Linked DNA regions of Homo sapiens: region 2 is linked to region 1. Evidence: promoter capture Hi-C in human tissues and cell types (Jung and others, 2019). All regions are on one chromosome and are shown on one strand. Each heading gives the region's core, a stretch centred on a gene start or on the middle of the fragment in contact. The rest is flanking DNA. Distances are from core to core; before and after follow the strand shown.

Region 1 (3,846 bases), core at 480-2,979:
TCCATCTGCTCAAAGGCAGAAAAGTGATAGAGCAGTTCAATCAAAAGAGCATCCCCTTAAAATATTCTTTGAACTTGATCCTACTTTTTTTTCTGAAACAGAGTCTCGCTCTGTCACCCAGGCTGGAATGCACTGGCGTGATCTCAACTCACCGCAACCTCCGCCTCTCGGGATCAAGTGTTCTCCTGCCTCAGTCTCCCGAGTAGCTGGGATTACAGGCGCGTGCAACCACGCCCAGCTAATTTTTGTATTTTTACTAGGGACAGGGTTTCACTGTGTTGGCCAGGCTGGTTTCCAACTCCTGACGTCGGGTAATCCGCCCACCTCGGCCTCCCAAAGTGCTGGGATTGAAGGCGTAAGTCACCGCGCCTGGCCTTGACCCTAATTATTGACTAAACTATTGCTTCGCTAATTTTTTTTCCTGCCCTTCTGTTTTAACAGCAGTAAAACAGTGTGGTGAAATGTTCAAAAAATCAGTGAATCACAGCCTTCTGAAAATTAATGGGTGTCAGTGAGGTTTGGGAGTTGGATGGAGACAAAGGGAGCGACACCATAACTAACTGGAGATCTTACTAGGTTTTCATTTAATATTCATTTTTTACAATAGACATTGTTTGGAAAAAAGGGTTTAATTCAAAATGTCATTAAGGCACATTATCTTTAATGTTCTAGAAAAAGTTATTTAAAGAAATCCTGGCCATGAAATTAAAATAAATAAATAAATAAAACCAGGCATTCTTTGAAATGTGAATAATAATTTGCTAATTTATATTTAGGATTGTGGATATACTTTTTTTCTTTTACATGTATTCCTGGGGAGGTAAGTGATGCAAATATTTTCCCACTGCCTCAATCAGACTTTAGTTTTTGGGGTCTGGCCTGATATGATGGAATATAAACAGGAAATCAAGATCAGAAGAGCCTGTCCCTGAGAACACTCCTTCACGGGACTCTAGCTCACGCCTGGACCTTCCCAGTGCTTCCATCTGAAGCCCCTGGAGACCCAGGTGGGTTAAGTAGGGTGGCAGGGGGGATGGAGGGGGCGGGGGGCGCGGGGGCGTAAATCCTCCCCCACTGGGGAGGGTGACAGTAACAACTTCCAGATTGTTTACAAAGATACAGGCTCTGCTTCAGGCATTTGACGTGTATTAACTCGGGTAATCATCCCAGTAACTCATGAAATAGTTATATTATTATCTTCACTTCCCAGATAAGCAACGGAGTGAGAGAGATTATAGAAAGTGGAGAAGCGAGTACCTTACTAGTAGCCACTAGGGGTGTCAGTAATATGGCTCAACTTTGTTACGACGGATCAGAAAAATGCTCACCTTTAAGACCGCAAGCAGAGCCTGTCTGGGGAAGCAGGTGACTTATCAACGCCTTTTGAGATAAGGAATAGGACTGCGGGGAGGAGTGTGTGAGAATCAAAGGTGAGTTCCCTGTGTGCGTGGTCGGCGGTCAACTCCTAGCTAGTCCAAGCTTAGAGCCTGCGCATTTGCCCTCCCGGGTCAGAGCCCAAAGCCGAAGGAACAGAACCAGCGCCGGCGGCAGCCACGTGGCCCAGCCTCTGAGCCCTAGCTGCCATCGCGGAGGCTGGGCCCGAGGGGCGGGGCTGGGGAGTGCGGACACCCGGGCCTGGCGGAGTGCGCCTGCGCACGGGGTTGGCCCGGCGGGGGTGGGAACACTAGCAGAGCCGCGTTAAAGGCGCTCCCCGCCCCGCCCGCCGGTCCAGTGCTCGCAGTGCGCAGGCGTGGGGCTCTCTCCTTGTCAGTCGGCGCCGCGTGCGGGCTGGTGGCTCTGTGGCAGCGGCGGCGGCAGGACTCCGGCACTATGAGCGGCTTCAGCACCGAGGAGCGCGCCGCGCCCTTCTCCCTGGAGTACCGAGTCTTCCTCAGTGAGTGTCTGCGGCCCGTGGCCCCTCCGCGCCCGTCCGCCCATTCATTCCCGGGCCTTGCCTCCCCGGGAGGGTGCGGCCCGCGCTCGGCCCCAGGTCTCCGACGCGGGCCCGTCTCCTCGGGCGCGTTGTGGGGCCTGGCCGGCCTCACATTGCATACTTGCCGCCGCCGGTCGGGGCGGCGAGGGTCGCCTCCGGCCATCCCTCCCCGCTGAACGGAGATGGTCCCTTTGTCACGCCTCGGGGTACCCGAACCTGGGCCCAGCTAGTTTTGCAGGTGTCTGGCTCTGACAGGGTCTGTTGGGAAAAGGAAATCACCGACCCACCCTAGAAAGGTGCTTGGAAGTAACATAATTCCCGTAAGAGGATTGCTCAGTTTGGAGAAAAGGCGACTCCGGGCCGGGGGGGGCAGTGACTTCCTAAAGACCTTAATTCCGCCGCCGTAGCTCAGATTATCGGCGCTGAGCGGAGCCAAGTCCACCCCCTCGTTTTACAGACGGGAAAACTGAGGCCCGGATCGGGAGCCGTCTGTGAAGGCGCTGGACCGGTCCTCCGCGGCCCGGTCGTGCTCCTGCCTCTGCGCCGCCTGTTTTCCCTCAGCGCCGATGCTGGGAATGCTCCTTATGAAACAGAAAGCTGTTTCCCTCAAATCAAACAGATGACGTCAGTCTGGAAACAAGACTGAGAAAGTGCCAAGTTTTTACCTTTGCAGGATTCGGCGTCTAGGGGGTACCTACCCCGGGTCCTGCACCTAGGGCTGCACGGGGAAACCGGGAGGCTGCATGCTGGCGCCCTCCACGCTCCTTAGGGCACCACGTTTTTTTGGCCTTGTAGGTGGAGGAAAGCTACTTGGGGTTTTTCTTTATCCTCTTACTCCCCCCACCCCCAGCTACTAGGAGTAGATTATGGGCGATAACGGAGGCGTTCGTAAATGTGTCACCACAGGCGCTTCTATTGTAACCTCTTTACAGTTTTATTTGGAAGGAAATGGGCAGGTGCCTCGAACTCTGAGTTGGTGTATGAAGGAAGGGGAAGCGGGGAGTAGAGGAGACGAATGAATAGGCATTGAAGGAACAAAAAGTAGCCTGGTGCGGGAGGAAAAGGAAAGCGAACTGTAAAGCTTACACATCTAGCCAAAGGTTAACTATCAGGTAAAATCCAGGAAGGGTGAGAACTACCCCCCACTCTCCATTTTATTTAATTTTGCAATTAAGCAGCAAGGACAGTCCAGTAACTTTTGACTAATAATTCATGGGACTGTTTTTCTGGAAATAGTGTTGGCTCCAGAATTTCTCTGTAGGAAAGGCTTACAGAGGTGACTGTCTGGTTTGAAGGTGAGGGGTGGATCTTCAAGCTATATATGCAGAACAAACACACTGCTTTTACTTAGGTTATTTATTTGCAATTAATATTTGGTGGCCGTTATGGGAGACCAAAGCTACTCCTAGAATTTGGCACTAGCTGAAGTAACTGTTTTTATCAAGTGGAACTCTCTGGAACTTAAGAAATACTAATAATTAGAACCCACTACATAGTTATCCAATTTTAAGTGCTTTATCCTTCCTTAATAGAAATAAACTTTTTTAAGCTTTATAATATTACATTTGTCAATTTCTTTAAAACTGATAAAGGGCTGGACAGACTGCAAAGTCACAATTGGCCCTAAAGGGACTTTTATGTTTTATTGTTTGTTTTTTGAAACAAAGTCTCGCTCTGTTGCCCAGGCTGGAGTGCAGTGGCATGATCTTGGCTCATTGCAACTTCAGCCTCCCGGGTTCAAGTGATTCTCCTGCCTCAGCCTCCCAAGTAGCTGGGATTACAGGCACTTGCCACCATGCCTGACTAATTTTTGTATTTTTAGTAGAGACGGGGTTTCACCATGTTGGCCAGGCTGGTCTTGAACTCCTTACCTCCAGTGATCCACCTGCTTTGGCCTTCCAAAGTGCTGGGAT
Region 2 (3,846 bases), core at 662-3,161, 100 kb before region 1:
ATGGAGACTTGCTGACCCCAAGACCCTGCATCTGGAGGTAACACAGCCTGGTGGAACTGGGCCCCAGAGGGCTTGTGAGTAGTTGGGGAGCATCCAGCAATGTGGAGTTGAGAAGTTCCCTGGGGCTCGTGGCTCATTTTCTCTGATTTTTCAGCAGCACCAGGCTTCTTGCCTCTTTCTGTTTCCCCAAGTGTGTGTTCTTTACACTGTCCCTGACAGGGAGATGCCAGCCAGCCATAAACTCCGGGAAGAAGTGTGGTTTCCTCCTCAGAGCCAGGCCCTCCCAGGGGTGACCTCGGAGATGTGCCCAGGGTGAGCCCACAGGGTGCATGACACCTGGGGGGAGCCTGTCTGCAGAGGGCTCCTGGCTGCTCACTGGGCTGCCCCTTACCCTCACCACAGGGCTCTCCAGGCAGCAGCTCCTGGTGCCTGCCAGAGAAAATGGGGCAATTTTCCTCATTATCTCAGCAATTAGGACAGTCAGGAGGGAGGCACCAGGCTTTATCTTTACCTCTGGCAACCGCCTTGGTGCCAGAGGGGGCCACGCCTCAGCCTTGGCTCCTCTCTGCACACTTTGGGGAGTGGTCTTCCTGCTCCAAGGGCCCTACATGCCTGGTGCCTGGGGGTGGGTGTGGGCAGAGGGCATGGAGAAGCTAGGTTAAAGCAACTGAGTTCATCCTAACAGGCCAGGGTGGTGAGGACGGGGTGGGTCCCTCTGTTCCTCAGGCCATGCCATCAAAGCTGCTGCTGTCCACGTGTGGTCAGGAGTCTTAGGCGGTATTTGGGGGTGGGAAGGGGGTGTGCCAGTGAACAGTGTATGTCAGTGCCCCACAGGAGTTACTATTTTCTGGAGTTCTGGGAAGGGAGGAGACGGGGAGTGTCCCCTGGGCACATTACATTTCCAAACCCGGGGAGCAAGGGAACCGTCCTCAGAAAGGCTGTTGGGGTGTTGGGGTCACAGTGTGCTGTTCCTCCCCAGCTTCCTACTTCACTTCAGCCCACTGGGTTTACTTTTTCTAATAGCTGATGTTACTTAGTGGACAAAAGAGAAAAGAAGAGGGGGCTCAGGAATGTGCAGGGACAGCAGGGCAGACATGGAAGCTTTGTGCGGTCAATGGGATGCTTAGGTTTGGTTGTAGCATGGGATCAGGCAGATCTACTCTGTCAGAAACACATTTTCTTTTTTTTTTTTTTAAGATGGAGTCTCGCTGTGTCACCCAGGGTGGAGTGCAGTGGCACTATCTCTGCTCACTGCCACCTCCACCTCCCCAGTTCAAGCGATTCTTCTGCCTCAGCCTCCCGAGTAGCTGGGATTACAGGCACTTGCCACCACGCCTGGCTAATTTTTGTATTTTTAGTAGAGACAGGATTTAACCATGTTGGTCAGGCTGGTCTCAAACTCCTGGCCTCAGATGATCCACCCATCATGTCCTCCCAAAGTGTTGGGATAATAGGCCTGAGCCACAGCACCCGGCCAGAAACACATTTTCTGGTTCTTTCAGTGCAACCCACCACTGGAATAGTGGGGTCTGGGAGAGTCCATCTCCCCTGAGTTATGCACAAGGGGCAGACCCCAATTGCAGATGATCAAGAGTTCCTACCTGGTACCAAGGCAGTGACAAGGTTGTGGCCTTCTGCATCAGTTTTTGCCATCAGTCCTCAAGGGTGCCCCACCCCTGGAGCTACCTGGATGACCTCAGTGAAGCAAAGGCCAAACTGTTTGTGACCCCTGCATGGCTGCTTCTGGGCAGTGGGTCAGCCCTTCCTAGCAGTGTTAAGGAACCCAAGCATCATGGGCTTCAGCATCCTTAGTAGAATCCCAGAGATGGGATCACTGAGGTCAGAGGGCATTTTGAGGCTCTACTACATATAGCAGAAGAACCGCCCAGCAGAGACCAACCAACCTACAGAGCTACAAAAAATAAGTTAAATTCCCTATGAAGGGGAGTTGGGGCAGCCTGGAGATGGATTGCTGCTGCACCAGCAGGAGAGCATCGCTTCCATCCTGGGTCTTAACCACCCCTAGAAACCAGCAGACCTCAACAGCCCCCTTGCACCCCCCAGCCCAGAATTCTGTACAGTGTGTTGGGGGAGGAGGGTACACCTGGAACACCAGGACCGTGTGGCTCTGAGCCTCTGGTACCTCTGTCCTCCAGAGCCCAAGCTAACACTTCTTGCAACCCTGTAAGGCAGAAGACTGCAGTTTCCCTTCACTTCCCTCTTCCAGGCTCTAAGTGCAGCTCTCCTTTGCTCCCAGCTCTGCGATTCAGATGTTTCCATACCTGCCTCTGCTCTTCTTACCCATTCCCAAGCACCTCTCTTGTTGCTGTTTATGTCTCTGCCACACCTGCAGAGCTCTAAGTCTTCATTTGAAAAACGTATCCTATTTACTTATTTATTTTTGATTAGGCAGTAGATGCACACAATGTGATATTTTGAGGATTGAAAGGATAGTGGGGAAAAATAAGTCTGCTCTTCTACTCCTGTCCCCAGACATCCAAGTCCGTGTCCAGAGACAACCACCATTAGCAGTACTGGAGATATTCCATGCCTATGTAAATATAAATATACTTCATAATAGTAGCATTTATAATATGCCACCAAGGGTAGGTACTGTTGTAAGCAAACAGAGCATAAAGTAACAAGTAACTTGCCCAAGTTCACACAGCAAGAAAAAAGAGCTACCTTAGTCTTTTCTTTTGAAACAGGTCTCCCTCTGTCACCCAGGCTGGAGTGCAGTGGTGCAATCTCGGCTCACTGCAACCTCTGCCTCCTGGGCTCAAGTGATCTTTCCACCTTAGCCTCCCGACTAGCTGGGACTACGGCACACACCATCAAACCTAGCTAATTTTTTGTATTGTTTGTAGAGACAGGGTCTTGCCATGTTGCCCAGGCTAGTCTTGAACTCCTAGACTCAAGTGATCCGCCTGTCTCAGCCTCCCAAAGTGTTGGGATTACAGGCGTGAGCCACTGCACCTGGCCTGCCTTAGTCTTTTTATGGAGGCAGAATGTTTAGTACTTCATTTTAGTCTGTTCCAGACCTTGTTAAAAGTGCTTTTTCTGCCCTTCCCCTTGTCCACCCCCAAGGAGTGAGTGTGGCATCTGGAAATGCCCTCTGACCCCTGTGGGCAGCAGCTGTCTCTGTGTGAAGCCTCCTCAGCACTGAGCATGGGCTGGTGGAAGGACACTGCCCACCTGACCGTCTGACTCTGCCCTGCTGGGGAGTCCGTGCAGTCAGGGACTGTGATTGCTCATTGCCGCAGGTTCAGAGCCGAGGTGCTGATTGAGGTTTGGTGAGCAGGTATTTTTGGAGTTGGCACATTCCTTCGAGCATGGGTTGTATAATTACTGCAGGCCAGCCTTGTCTGTCCCCTAATGGAATTGGCAAGCTTCTCTCTCAGCTGGGGTTAATCTAAGGCCTCTGAGTCAGCCTTGGCAATTGTCCAAGATAAGGATGGTACAGGAAGTAATAAGAGGAACTTGGGGAAGAAGAGGTCCATTTAACAGACACCGGAAACCACAGTTCAGTAGGTTTAATCAATAAGGAAATGTCATGATGGGGGCTGCTCTCAGGCTGGGTACAACGTTGGGAGTGGAATGGAGTGGGATCTTTTTCCAGAGCCCCGGTCCATCCTGGGAGCCCTGGTTGTTCCACTCTGAACCCTGGCCTGGTGCAGGAAGAATCTTTGGAACCCCTAATGCAGTCTTCTGGGACCAGAAGATCTCAGCCCTCTCTGTCCAGAAGAGGGGGCAGTAAGACCTTGGGCAGATGGCCTGGGTGCTGTGACTCCAGAGGTGAGAAGCAAAGCCAGACGTGGCTGTGGCTGTGTTGGGCTGGAAGCCCAA

What was found. The method cuts DNA at HindIII sites, captures the fragments that hold promoters and counts their contacts. A contact is called where the count stands out against the background at its distance.
Region 2: a fragment that was not itself captured here is called in contact with the fragment with the promoter of PPA1 in region 1 in 3 of the 25 tissues and cell types used here (IMR-90 fibroblasts, hippocampus and lymphoblastoid cells).

Annotation. Positions count from the first base shown.
Region 1 is chr10:70,231,312-70,235,157 of GRCh38, reverse strand. PPA1 (inorganic pyrophosphatase 1) reads left to right here and starts at 1,729. Exons shown (of 11, transcript NM_021129.4): 1 at 1,729-1,894. The coding sequence starts at 1,831. RefSeq lists a silencer at 1,518-2,087. The HindIII fragment of the contact is 11,213 bases long and covers 1-2,247 here.
Region 2 is chr10:70,331,498-70,335,343 of GRCh38, reverse strand. The region is part of intron 3 of LRRC20 (leucine rich repeat containing 20); the gene reads left to right. Among named protein-coding and RNA genes, the nearest start is that of LRRC20, 49 kb to the left of the region's middle. RefSeq lists enhancers at 1-344, 3,297-3,591. The HindIII fragment of the contact is 5,717 bases long and covers 1-3,846 here.